4 separate regions of the Homo sapiens genome follow, and all the other regions are linked to region 4. Evidence: promoter capture Hi-C in 16 types of primary human blood cells and fetal thymus (Javierre and others, 2016). All regions are on one chromosome and are shown on one strand. Each heading gives the region's core, a stretch centred on a gene start or on the middle of the fragment in contact. The rest is flanking DNA. Distances are from core to core; before and after follow the strand shown. Region 1 overlaps PPME1 (protein phosphatase methylesterase 1). Region 2 overlaps PPME1 (protein phosphatase methylesterase 1). Region 3 overlaps PPME1 (protein phosphatase methylesterase 1). Region 4 holds the start of UCP2 (uncoupling protein 2).

Region 1 (3,346 bases), core at 741-3,240, 250 kb before region 4:
GGCTGAGGTGGGAGGATTGCTTGAACCTAGGAGTTCAAGGTTGCAGTGAGCTAGGATCATGCCACTGCACTCCAGCCTGGGTGACAGAGTGAGGCCTTGTCTCCTAAATAAATAAATAAGCAAGCAAACAAACAAACAAATTAATTAAATAAAGGCGACAAAGATTTGTTGGTTACCTCCATTCAATAGCATTCTCCAGAGACTTGAAGGTTTTAGGACGACCCCGTAAGAAATTCTGCATGCTATTAAGTGCATCCATAGCTGTACCTGGATGTTAAACAAAAACTGTAACCACATATTTAACTTATTCTGAGCATTTACACTTACTGAGTCAACTACTATATATCTGCTCTTGATGACAGCAGAATTTAGTGATGCTCGCAGAGAAATAAAGATGGCCCTCAATAATTTTTGCCTCTGGGGTATTCACTTCTTTATGTCATGCCCTCACACTGAAGAGGATGACTTGTATTCACAAGCAGCAGTGTGACTTCTGAAGCTGGGTCAGAAAAGACATGGCAGCTTCTTTTTATATGATTAAATACAATTATGGGACATACATAGGATTGAAATATTATGCAGCCATAAAAAGATGTTAATGAAGAGTTTTTGATGACATGGAAAAATGGTTATCTTGTATAAACTTAAAAAAGATATAAAGACAGAGGGACATATTTCAAGATGAATGAAATCAACAATAAACTAAGACAAGGTAATAATCTACCAAGGATGTCTCTTATAAGTGAAATCCTGATTTGGTCAGTGCTAAGAAAACTCACCTTCTACAACATCAATCATGCACAGACCCAAGAGGCTTGGTACCAGGTTGGATGATGCTGTGTGGACTGCAATAGCACCACCCATGCTATGTCCAATCAGCATAATTGGAGGAGGAAGGTCCCCATACATGGCTTCAACCACATTGCCAACGTCTCTGCAAAGAGAAGAGAAAAAGATCTAAGAATGCTTTCTGACAACACTGTAAAAATGGTTTTCTTTCCCAGTTCCTTTCTTTGGTGTGTAACAGTGCTGGGAAACTGTAAAAGTCTATTGGGCCATCTTACAAACATACCTATGTAAACCTTCTAACATGTCCCCAGCATCAATATGTGTAGCCACACACCTAGCTCTCCTGATAAATGGCAGGTAAAGGACTAAGAACCCAAATTACTGAATTTTCCTTTACATCACACTTTCACTGTTCCACATATGTAGTACAATTACATAAACATATACCTTTATTTTGAACCTAAGATTGAAACTGGAAAAATCATTTAACTGCTCTGTTTCAATTTTCCCATCTATAAAACAAGAACAAAAATTTATTAAGCATTATAATGTAGTAAACCTCAGAATCACAAGATGAGCCCTAGCCTCAGTTTATTTTTCACTATGTGATCTTGGGTTAGTTACTTAATCTCTCAGAAACTGAGTTTCGACATCTATAAAAAAAGATAAAAATATCACTGACTGCTCTGGATTGCTTTGAGGATTAACTGAGAAGGGAACAAGAAAACACCTCGAAAGAGTAAAATGCTTCACAAATGTTAATTATTATTTACAATTTCTCATTTGTTTGAAGGATGAACATAAATGTAAGTACAGTGCTCTGAGAAACTAGAAAGGTGTTCAGAGCTCATTTTATTGGCTTTGGTTCTAATCTTCAATTATTAATGGACCTATTTAACAAAGTCTAATTTTAAAGCTTTGAAAATTAGAACTGAAGTATGAAGTTTGGTTTTTAATTGCATGTAGGCCTTCCTTGCTATAGCAATAGGTGGATAAGAACAGTAAGGTGTGTTTCTGGAGACCCACTGGCTCTACTGCCTTATTATATATATATATTTTTAGGCTAGTTCTACCCCCTTCTTTTGGGAGTGGCTGGTTCAACTTCAAAAGAAAGTTTTGTCTTGTTGAGTGTCACTGCATACCTTAAGCACTCACACAGTGTTAACCAAATATAGCAAGTGTCAAGGTAGGAACACAGACTTTCATATATAGTCTCTACAGTATTTATAATGGCAAAGGCAAATGTTATTAGTTCTGTAGGAACTGATTTTTAAAATCTCATACAACAACTGCAGGAGTGAATAGGGTAGCCTCGGCAATTGTAGACAATCTGAATGGGAGATAGGGAGGCCACCAAACTTTGTAAGTGAAAACAAATAGTTTAATATTCGTTCGACTTAAATTTAAGATTAAGACAGAAAGTGAAGCAGTTCAGGCAGTCATCCAAAGCGATAACAAATAGTTAAGACGAAAAGTCCAAGCTTCTTTGACACCAGTGCTGCTTCTATAGTAACACAAAATTCTCTCTGGGAGACAAAATGATATGAAGGAAAGAAAAGAGAACTAATACTTATTCAGTGCTTCTTTTTCAGTTGTGCTCTAAACTTTCTTATAACATCACCTAACGTAATCCTTCAGCAGCCCTGTCTAGAAGGTTCTGTATTAATCAATTAATCTCACTGGGTCTATAAAAATATTATTGCATTTTCTCACTGGGTCTATAAAAATATTATTGCATTTCTACCAAGTAAAAAGAGCTGCAGATTCTTGTTACCTCACTGAAACATATTTTCAATGTTTCAACGAGTTAACCAATTTATGCTAGTGTTCCACTACTGGAACACTAAGCATGTGGGAGTTATTTATATCCTACTGCCCAAGGTCATCACCAAGTTCTGATTGCAAAAATTCAAAAAATTGCAACCTCAGGCATAAATGGTAAAGCCATCTCCCCTTGGCATAGGGTAGTGTGAATTCAGAGTAATTTCATGAAGTCAAAACCATGATGCCTTTGCTCAGAGGCCACTGGAAAATATCAGGAACAAAGATTCGATAATATGTGGTCTTTAGAGTAGTAACACAGAGGAAATTATTACACATACAGTTTCTAAAAAATAAAACAGGTAGTATTCCAAAGCTAATTCTGCATATTAAAATAACAGACCAGAAAAAATTATATGCTCAATTAATTAATCTAAAACAATATTGGATACAATTTTGGGGGCAAACTGTTTTTTTTTTTTTAAAGAAAAGACTAAAGTTTAAAACATGTTTATATTAAATATCAACATGTAATTTCCAGAATAATTCTTGAACAATTCCAAGAAACTTTCGGTTGGTAACAGACAAATAATGAGTAAAATAAAAGGATGCTATGGACGATTATCTAAGTCCAAGTCACCTTAAAATACACATTAACTGAATTGAAGGGGTTCTGCAGTATCTGCCTCATGCACAAAGGTAGAGAGGTCTGAAACACACCAACTGAACATCGTGTCTGAGCTTAAGAAAGGCATATTTACCCAGGTAGAAGGTAGTTACGATCAATCACTTGATC
Region 2 (3,116 bases), core at 64-2,563, 210 kb before region 4:
TCCATCATGTTGACAAAATATAGGAAGCCAGACATTAACAGGTATTAACAAGGAAACAGGGAAGATTATTTGGAAAACTGTAAGGCATCACCTAATAAAATTAGACAGGTGTCCTTCAACCTGGTAATTTTACTTTACAGAGAACCTCCTGCACATAGGCATCAAAACACACATATAAGAATGTTTGTAGACACATGTCTATAAAAGCAAAGAATAAGAAGCAAGCTAAATATGCATCACCAATAGAATATACAAACTGTGATGTATCTGGGTAATAGAATATAGCATAGCAGTGAAAATAAATTTAAAAGTACATGAATCTGAAAAATACTTAGAGAAAGAAATAAGCACAGAAGACTGAATCCTGTATAATTCCATTAATAATAGTGTTCAAAAACAGGCAAAGCTAAATAATGTATTTTTAATGTATACATGCACAAGTGGTAAAACAATAAAGAAAAGCCAGGCACTGATTATCATGCAATTCAATACCAGTGTGGGAAACAGAGATGCTCTCGAGGAGAGACAAACAGGTTTCTAAGGTGCTGATAATGTTTTATTTCTTAAGCTAGGTGACGGACACATGAGAATTTATTATTCTTTGAACTGTACATATATACTTTACTTTTCTGTATGAGTATTTCACAATTTTAAACAAATAAAGCCTTTGAATTCTGTAAAACTTCTCTTAATATTTGGTCATTCACATTAAATAATCTACCAGGTCTATTTTTCACTCAAATTTCCATTTCTGGCATCCTCCATTCATCTGCTCCAAATAGGACTGCCTGCTGTCTGATATAATGAACTGCTAACAATTTAGTATCATCTCAGGAATTCTTCTTGCCTTTCACCTGTGTTGAATCCCTTATCCCATATCCCATATTTTTCTTGTTGTAGTCTCTTATTTTGATGAAACACATCCTCCATCAGCTTCATGAGAAAGGGACATTAATTTTGAAACTTTGCATGTTGAAAATAGCGTTCCCCATTTTCACACAATGACTGACAGTCTGCCTGAGTATAGACATCTTATATTAGGGACTGCTTCTGTCTATGGTAATTAATAGATCCAACTTGAGAAATATTGGCTAAAATTATATGTAAGTATTTGTGTGAAAAATATTATATAAATAGATGTTATATTTATACAATCATAGTGTATAATTATTAAATAATTATATATAATGATCTTATATATTGTAATTATATAGTCATTCGTTCTTCTTAAACGCATAGATGAGCTGGCAAGAAAGTAAGGAACAGGGAAGACCCAGGTCAAAAGTTAAGTAAGGTGGGAATCCAGAGAGGCACTTAGACCATTAAATCTGGCTTTTACCTTGATGGCATTTGCCAACTGTCTGAACTTGAAGTTTTGCGATGCACACAGAACAGGACACAAAGCCCGAGGTGGGAAGTCTTGCTGCGGAGCCCAGTAGGAAACCTTTCTCCATCAAGCTGGGATCCCAAAGAATCATAAGCTCAGTGAAAGGCTGAAACAGAATTAACTTTCTGCTTCTTACCACAATCTCAGGATTAAATTAAAAAATAAAAAATAAAATAAAAAAAGGCCTGTCTTAAAACTTAGCATTGAGAAGGGAGAAGCAAGAAAAAACAAAGACAGCTCTCAAACTGATATGGAGCTAAATACATATCATTTACATATCCCAAGAAGTTTCAAGATGAGAATGTAAAGTGGATCCAACTGGTAGTGCCCTCAGGACCCCCAAGAGAAACAAAGGCAAATCCTCTTTGAAGAATCAATCTTCATTCTAGGACTAAGAACTTTAAGAAAGTTCCAAGGCAAATGACCATCTCACAATCAAAAAGCATAAAATACGTGAGGAAACAGACCTGTAAAGAGTTCACATAAAGAAATTATCAAATACAATATAAAATAACTGCTTAACACATTTAAATGAACAGAAACTTGAAACAAGCTCCTAGAATGAAAAGAATTAAAATTAAAAAACAAATAGTCAAGTTTAACATATTAGACACAGCTAAGGAGAAGCGTAAACTAGTAGTGAATTTGTTCAGATACATCTAGATACATTTAGAATCCAAAATACAAATAGAAGATGGAAAATACAAAAGTTAAGAAATATGAAGGGAAGAGTAAATAAGTCTTAAATATGTCAAACTGAAGTTCTGAAAGGAAATAAAGACAGTGAAATAAAAGCAGTATTTGAAGAGGCCGTACAGGTTGAGTATCCCTCATCCAAAATGCTTGGGACCAGAAGGGTTTCAAATTTCAGTTTATTGTTTCCTTTTTAATTTTGGATTATCTGCATATACACAATGAGATATCCTGGAGATGGGACCTAAGTCTAAACACACAATTCATTTATGTTTAATAAAGACCTTATACACATGGCCTGGAGGTAATTTTAAACAATGTTTTTAATAATTTTGTGCACAAAACAAAGTTTGTGTAAACTGAACCATCAGAAAGCAACGGTGTCACTATCTTAGCCACCCATGTGGAAAATCTATGGTTGTTTGGCATCACCATCATTCCTGATTGAACTTACACGTTACTAATAATCATTTTTATTACACTTATTCACACATAAGTACTTAACAGTAAAAGATACAACATACCATTAATACAGTGAAAAAACATAATGTACTCAGGGTAACCAACCAGCACAGTAACATCACAGAACACCTCTACCAGTTATTAAATAAAAGCAACAACCAACAATGGCAGGCTTTCAGTCTCCCACCTACAATGTTGTGTTTGATTAAAAAGTTACTGAACACGGTATTTTATTTTTTTAGGTGAGAAGAAACATCAGAAGCAGCTGAGGGATGTGTTAAGTCTGTTCTTGCTGTAACATAATACCTGAGACTGGGTAATTTATAAAAAGGTTTAACTGGCTAATGGTTCTGCATGGTACCAGCATCTGTTCCTGGTAAGGGCCACAGGAAGCTTATAATCATGGTGGAAGGTGAAGTGGGAGCATCTGTGTCACAAGGTGAGAGCAGAAGCAAGAGAAGGGGGAGGTGCCACACTCTTTTTAAACAACCAGATCTGGAGAGAACTCAGGGCAAGAACTCACTCATTACCAAGGTGATGGCAATAAACCATTCATGAGGGATCTGCATCCATG
Region 3 (3,414 bases), core at 852-3,351, 190 kb before region 4:
AAAAAAAAAAAAAAAAGGACACTACACAGGTACCAGGAAAAAATATAAATGATTCCTTTATAACCCAAAAAAAGGAAAAGCCTTTCTGTGACTCAAGATCCAGAAGCAATACATGCTGGGAGGAAGGGAAGATGCTAATGAGTAACGAGTTTATGGGAGGATGAAAATGTTCTGCAATTAGTGGTGGTAATTGTACAACTGAGTGAATATACCAAAAATCACTGAATTGTACATTTAAAAGAGTGAATTCTATGGCATATAAATTTAACTTTTTAAAAATCTAATGAAAAAATAAAAAAAAAAACAGAAATACTGGGATTTGATTATTTTAGTAACTCAATTTGTGACCTTGAGCAAATCACTTCACTTTGCCCTTTATTTCCCCATCTGTGTGAATAGCTCATTAAAGCCTTCCTAAGAGGCCTGATATCCATAATAAATTTAAGAAGATGGATGAAAGACTATCTAATCAGATATGAATAAACATACAGCTTGTGGGGACAAAAAAGCTGATAACATAAGAAACTGAAAGGAGAGCTTCCACATAAACTATGAACCTTCTTCACAGTTCTCAATGTATAATTATCTACTAGCTATCATTCTTTAAGAGCTTATGTGTCAGTGTCAGGAACTATAAGTGCTTTTTATGTATTATCTTATTCTCACAGCACTCTCAGGTAAGCAGAAGTATTCTCATTTTAGAGATAAGAAAATAGACTATGAGAAGTTAAATGACTCGACCAATGTAAATACCTAAGTTGGGCTTCAAACTTAGATCTTTGTCACTTCAAATATCAAACCCTTCAATGCAAGCTATAGAAAGAACAATGGACTAAAAATACGAAGTCCTGGGTTTGAATGTTGTTCCTGCCACATAATGATTCTGTGATCTTAGGCAAGTCAATGAACATTTCAGTTTTCTCATTTATTAAAAGAAAATATTAACTCCTGCCCTAGTTTACCTCATAGAATATAAAAAGGGACTACTATATACATGTCAGTTAAATCACTACAGAGCTGGGCATGCTAGCATGTATCCTCAGTCCTACCTACTCAAGAGGATGAAGTGGGAAGACTGCTTGAGCCCACGAGTTTGAGGTTGTAATGCACCAAGATTATGCCTGTGAAAAGCCACTGTACTTCAGCCTGGGCAACACAGCAAGACTCTATCTCTTGCAAAAGAAAAAAAAAGGAATTTAAGAGATAATAATAGAAAAGTAGAACTTTTTTTTTTTTGAGATGGAGTTTCGCTCTTGTTGCCCTGGCTGGAGTGCAATGGCGCGATCTCGGCTCACCACAACCTCCGCCTCCCAGGTTCAAGTGATTCTCCTGCCTCAGCCTCCTGAGTAGCTGGGATTACAGGCATGTGCCACCACGCCAGCTAATTTTGTATTTTTAGGAGAGACGGTGTTTTTCTATGTTGGTCAGGCTGGTCTTGAACTCCCGACCTCAGGTGATCCACCCGCCTCGGCCTCCCAAAGTGCTGAGATTACAGGCATGAGCCACCACACCTGGCCAAAAAGTACAACTACTGATAAACCAAAAACACGTTGAATAATGAATGGCTTTAATATTTTATAGTTCCTCTAATAGTAATAGTATATACGAAAGCAGTGACTTTCAAAAGATACTTCTCTCAAGCACACCAGGGGTGCAAAGCAAATAGGGATCTCAAATCTACTTTAGTCAGAGTAGCTCTAAAAGCTTTAATAAAGAAGTTCAAAACCACTGTTTTTGGCAACATCCATTGGCATCTATTAAAAGGAAGAGTGACACCAGGATTTCAGGCCTTACCCAAGAGAAAATATTAGTGTACTGAAAAGTGAATGGATTCTAGAGACTAAACTTAGATTGAATCCTAGCTCTGCTACCTACTAGTTGGGTTACTTTTAATCTCTGGGTCTGAATGTCTTTACCCACAATGCAGGAAAATATTCACCATGCAGGTCTGTGGACACATTAAATAACATAAAGTTACCATTACAATGTCTGGCACACAGTACTTACTTTAAAAATTGCTATTATTAAATTATCCAACAATACTTTGGAATTACTAAATCTAATCTGAAAAACTGAATTATGGAAACTCATGAAAAATCACCAACTCAGAATATGCACCCTGAATATGCAAACATGCCTAAATAATGTTTAGTGAAATTGAAGGCAAGAGATCATGAAAAATAGTTAAGAGTAAGCCACACAAGAGACTATCAAGAGAACAGGACTAACTTGTGAGTAACATAGATAGAGTGGAAGAATGGAAGTTAAGAAAAAAGCAAGTAAGCATAAGGAGACATAAAGAATGCTTTGAAATTGGTGTGAGACTTCATAAATTACGACTGAAGAAAAAGACTGAATCCTAGATTATATGCAAATGAGTAAGATACACAACTCAAAATAAGTATCCCCAGATGACAATTATGACTCCAAAATACACAATGGGTCTCACAGTCAAGAGACCCAAGTCCTAGTCCTTAACGGCCCTACCGCTAAGCTTCTAGGGTACCTTAGGAATATCTGAGTCTCAGTTCCCTCATTTATTAATACATTCCCTTATAGAATACAGAACTCTCTGAATATTGGGTTCCTCAACTACATGAAGTGGTGAAATGAGACCATGTCTATGCTTTCTCTCAGCTTTATGATTCTAAGGAGAAAGAGAATCTATATTATTACTACCATGAGACTTAGATGAAGCCTGCTTATATACCAATAAAGTAGAAAAGAAAGATACGGGAAAATAAGCCATTTGAGGACCACACAAATATTCGCCAATATATGCTCTTCTCTTCACAATACTATCATAAAGAAAGGCCTTTCTAAAGAACTTTCTTTTCCAGGATAAGCAGTTAACCTAAACCAAGAAGACCAAAGCATCTTTTTAAAAAGGTAAGTTGTCCAGGCACAGTAGCTCACTCCTATAATCCCAGTACTTTGGGAAGCCAAGTGGGGCAGATCACTTAAGGCCAGGAGTTTAAGACCAGCCTGGCCAACATGGCGAAATCCCCTCTCTACTAAAAATACAAAAATTAGCCGGGCGTGGTGGTGCATGCCTGTAATCCCAGCTACTTGGGAGGCTGAGGCACAAGAATCACTTGAGCCCGGGAGGTGGAAGTTGCAGTGAGCCGAGATTGTGCCACTGCACTCTAGCCTGGGCAACAGAGTGAGACTCTGTCTCTAAAAAAAAATAAAATGAAAAGTAATAAAAAATAAAAACGATAAATTACTAACAATTATACAATCTTCTAATCAGCAGATTTTCCTTTTTTTTTCTCTCAGTATCTTCATTCAGTTCTTCAATCTTCAGAGAACTTGTTTCTCCAAGATGAGAAGCTGAGCTCTAATTAAGCTTATCTAAGGAATGTATAATTATTAAAAATCTGATTTTCTTATGTATTTGTATAGAAGGGTGCT
Region 4 (3,301 bases), core at 31-2,530:
TTTCTTGTCTTTCTGTCTTTCCTCTCTCTCTCTCTGTCTTTCTTTCCTCTCTTTCTTTCTTTTTTCCTACATGGCAAGATCTCCTCATGGCAGAAATAATCTGCCTTGACTTCTGTTTCCACGCTGCTTCTGCCAGGACCATGCGCTCGGCGTGTTTTTCTTTCCGCTATAATTATCCAGGCCCATCCCAGCTCTGGTCCCCTCAGCTGTTCCCTGGCAGTCCCTTCTGCTGGTGAAAACACATATGGCGCCGGCCTGACCAGGGTGTAAGTGTGTGAATATCAGGAAGATGACTGAACGTCTTTGGGACTCCGTTTCCTCATTGTAAAATGGAGGTTAATACCAGCCTTCTTCTACTCCCCAAACGCACGTGTTTGTCCCGGCCAGAGGGCCCAATTGTTGGCTGTTCACGCGTCAGTTACCCCCACAGGACGGGTCAGCCAATTAAAGGCGAACCAGGCCCGGTCCATCTCCTGACGCCTTTTCTCATCCCAGGGCTGGACAGGCAGCTGGCCTGGGCCCGGCTCTGCCTTGTCACGTGCGGGGGCCGGCCCGTTTGCTTGTCTGTGTGTAGGAGCGTGAGGTCACGCTGGGTGCTCCCGCCCCGCCGGGGCCTTTAGTGTCCTGGTCCCTAAACGCCAGGCCGCTCCACCGGGGGAGAAGGCGCGAACCCCAGCCGAGCCCAACGGCTGTTGTCGGTTGCCGGGCCACCTGTTGCTGCAGTTCTGATTGGTTCCTTCCCCCGACAACGCGGCGGCTGTAACCAATCGACAGCGAGGCCGGTCGCGAGGCCCCAGTCCCGCCCTGCAGGAGCCAGCCGCGCGCTCGCTCGCAGGAGGGTGGGTAGTTTGCCCAGCGTAGGGGGGCTGGGCCCATAAAAGAGGAAGTGCACTTAAGACACGGCCCCGCTGGACGCTGTTAGAAACCGTCCTGGCTGGGAAGGCAAGAGGTGTGTGACTGGACAAGACTTGTTTCTGGCGGTCAGTCTTGCCATCCTCACAGAGGTTGGCGGCCCGAGAGAGTGTGAGGCAGAGGCGGGGAGTGGCAAGGGAGTGACCATCTCGGGGAACGAAGGAGTAAACGCGGTGATGGGACGCACGGAAACGGGAGTGGAGAAAGTCATGGAGAGAACCCTAGGCGGGGCGGTCCCCGCGGAAAGGCGGCTGCTCCAGGGTCTCCGCACCCAAGTAGGAGCTGGCAGGCCCGGCCCCGCCCCGCAGGCCCCACCCCGGGCCCCGCCCCCGAGGCTTAAGCCGCGCCGCCGCCTGCGCGGAGCCCCACTGCGAAGCCCAGCTGCGCGCGCCTTGGGATTGACTGTCCACGCTCGCCCGGCTCGTCCGACGCGCCCTCCGCCAGCCGACAGACACAGCCGCACGCACTGCCGTGTTCTCCCTGCGGCTCGGTGAGCCTGGCCCCAGCCCTGCGCCCTTTGCGCCCCCCACGCTTGTTCTGCGTGCGCTGCCCGCTCTTCCATTTACCTTCTCTCCCACCCAAGTTTGTACTCTTTTCTTTCTCTCGGTTTTATTTTTTGTTTTTGTTTGTTTGTTTGAGACAGGCTTTCGCTCTGTCTCCCAGGCTGGAGTGCAGTGGCGCGATCTCGGCTCACTGCAGCCTCCACCTCCCAGGTTCAAGCGATCCGCCTGCCGAGTAGCTGGGATTACAGGCGCCCGCCACCACGCCTGGCTAATTTTTGTGTTTTGTAGAGATGGGGTTTCGCCATGTTGGCCAGGCTGGCCTCGAACTGCTGAGCTCAAGCAATCCGCCCGCCTCGGCCTCACAAAGTCCTAGAATTTTAGGCATGAGCCTCCGGGTCCGGCCTGTGCTAATCCTTTCTGTCCTTGGTTCTTTATTTCTCTTCTCTCTTTTTCTTAGTCCCTTTTGTTCTTTCCCTCTCCCGTTCAGTTGGCTGTCGTTTGAGCCTCCACCTTTTCACTCCCTCCTTTCCACCACGATGCCGAGCCCTGCCTTGGATGGGGACCATCAGCGATGACCACAATGACCTCTCCCTTACCAGGCAGCTCCAGGCAGTGTTCCTGCACCGCCTTTCCCAGGGCTTGGGGGCTTTTTCTAGTGGGCTTTGAGCTGCTCAATCTGGCCTCTGCAGGGCCGGCTCCCAGCCCTTCCAACCTCCTCACAGCCCGACCTGGGACCTAGCCAATTCCCGGAGAGTCTCTGTCCCATCGTGACCCCCTCACAACTCTCCCACTCACCAAAGTCTGATGACTGTGCTAGGGGGTGCTTATATAGAGTACTGAGTGTTACAAAAGCAGAAGTCTGGATGAGAACCAATTTGTGATATTAAGCAGGTGGGGTGGGGGTGGGGAGTGTACCTAGGTTCATTTTCCGCCCTGCTTTTCCCCTTTCCAGTGTGTGCACTTAACCAGTCCCTGGGCCCTGTTCCCCATCCCCCTCCAAGGCATGGATTGGGTGGGCTTGTGTGTCTTGGGGCAGGTGGCCCTTTCTAAACTCTCTGCCTTTGCTCACCCACAGGACACATAGTATGACCATTAGGTGTTTCGTCTCCCACCCATTTTCTATGGAAAACCAAGGGGATCGGGCCATGATAGCCACTGGCAGCTTTGAAGAACGGGACACCTTTAGAGAAGCTTGATCTTGGAGGCCTCACCGTGAGACCTTACAAAGCCGGGTAAGAGTCCAGTCCAAGGAAGAGGTCTCTTGCTGCCTCCTAACCCTGTGGTCTAGGGGCAGGAGTCAGCAGGGCATTAACAAAAATAATTACCATCCCCACCCCCGACAGTGAAGTGGCTCTTTCCAGTTCACAGAGCACTCTCACACCTCCCCGCTCTCATTCTGGCCCTTCAGCTGACTCGGACAAGCCAAGGATCTTGGTCCCCATTTTATAAAGGAGAAAACTGAGGCCCACGTGTAACAGTGATTGGCCCCAAGTCATCCCGGGAGCCAGCAGAAGAGCTAGGACAGGAACCTATTGTTCTAACTTCATATTGATGCTAGCTTTTGACTATCCCTGAAACCGAGATTGGTAATCAGCCCGGCTCTGAAACTGGTTATTTGCTGGGGACTGTAAAATAGGATTAACTATTTCTAGTCCTGCATTTTAATTGCTGTTAGTAGGGCCATCTTACCCACCCTCTGAAGGACCTGACTTGGCAAGCCCAAGGCAACATTCAGAATATGGCAGCTGAACCTCTGTGCACTTGTCTTTGGGCAGCAGCTGGGTCTTATTCTTCTCTGGCCTTCACAACATCCTGCAACCCAGCTCAAGGTCAGGAATGTGACAGACTCATGTCATCATATCTCTGATGCCCAGAGAAGGGATACC

Evidence for each region. Contacts are between HindIII fragments. The CHiCAGO score rates a contact against its expected background, and 5 or more counts as called.
Region 1: a contact is called between a fragment that was not itself captured here and the fragment with the promoter of UCP2 in region 4, in 1 of 17 cell types (erythroblasts). The highest score is 6.8, in erythroblasts.
Region 2: a contact is called between a fragment that was not itself captured here and the fragment with the promoter of UCP2 in region 4, in 1 of 17 cell types (erythroblasts). The highest score is 5.0, in erythroblasts.
Region 3: a contact is called between a fragment that was not itself captured here and the fragment with the promoter of UCP2 in region 4, in 9 of 17 cell types (erythroblasts, megakaryocytes, fetal thymus and 6 more). The highest score is 12.8, in erythroblasts.

Annotation. Positions count from the first base shown.
Region 1 is chr11:74,227,833-74,231,178 of GRCh38, reverse strand. PPME1 (protein phosphatase methylesterase 1) reads right to left here. Exons shown (of 14, transcript NM_016147.3): 6 at 780-934; 7 at 177-267. Among named protein-coding and RNA genes, the nearest start is that of PPME1, 58 kb to the right of the region's middle. The HindIII fragment of the contact is 565 bases long and covers 1,708-2,272 here.
Region 2 is chr11:74,192,634-74,195,749 of GRCh38, reverse strand. All of the region lies in intron 1 of PPME1 (protein phosphatase methylesterase 1), which reads right to left. Among named protein-coding and RNA genes, the nearest start is that of PPME1, 23 kb to the right of the region's middle. The HindIII fragment of the contact is 3,249 bases long and covers 1-2,937 here.
Region 3 is chr11:74,173,324-74,176,737 of GRCh38, reverse strand. The region is part of intron 1 of PPME1 (protein phosphatase methylesterase 1); the gene reads right to left. Among named protein-coding and RNA genes, the nearest start is that of PPME1, 3.7 kb to the right of the region's middle. The HindIII fragment of the contact is 790 bases long and covers 1,707-2,496 here.
Region 4 is chr11:73,980,822-73,984,122 of GRCh38, reverse strand. It overlaps UCP2 (uncoupling protein 2), which reads left to right and starts at 1,280. Exons shown (of 8, transcript NM_003355.3): 1 at 1,280-1,402; 2 at 2,491-2,647. RefSeq lists an enhancer at 1-443 and silencers at 700-859, 1,160-1,369. The HindIII fragment of the contact is 10,071 bases long and covers 1-2,608 here.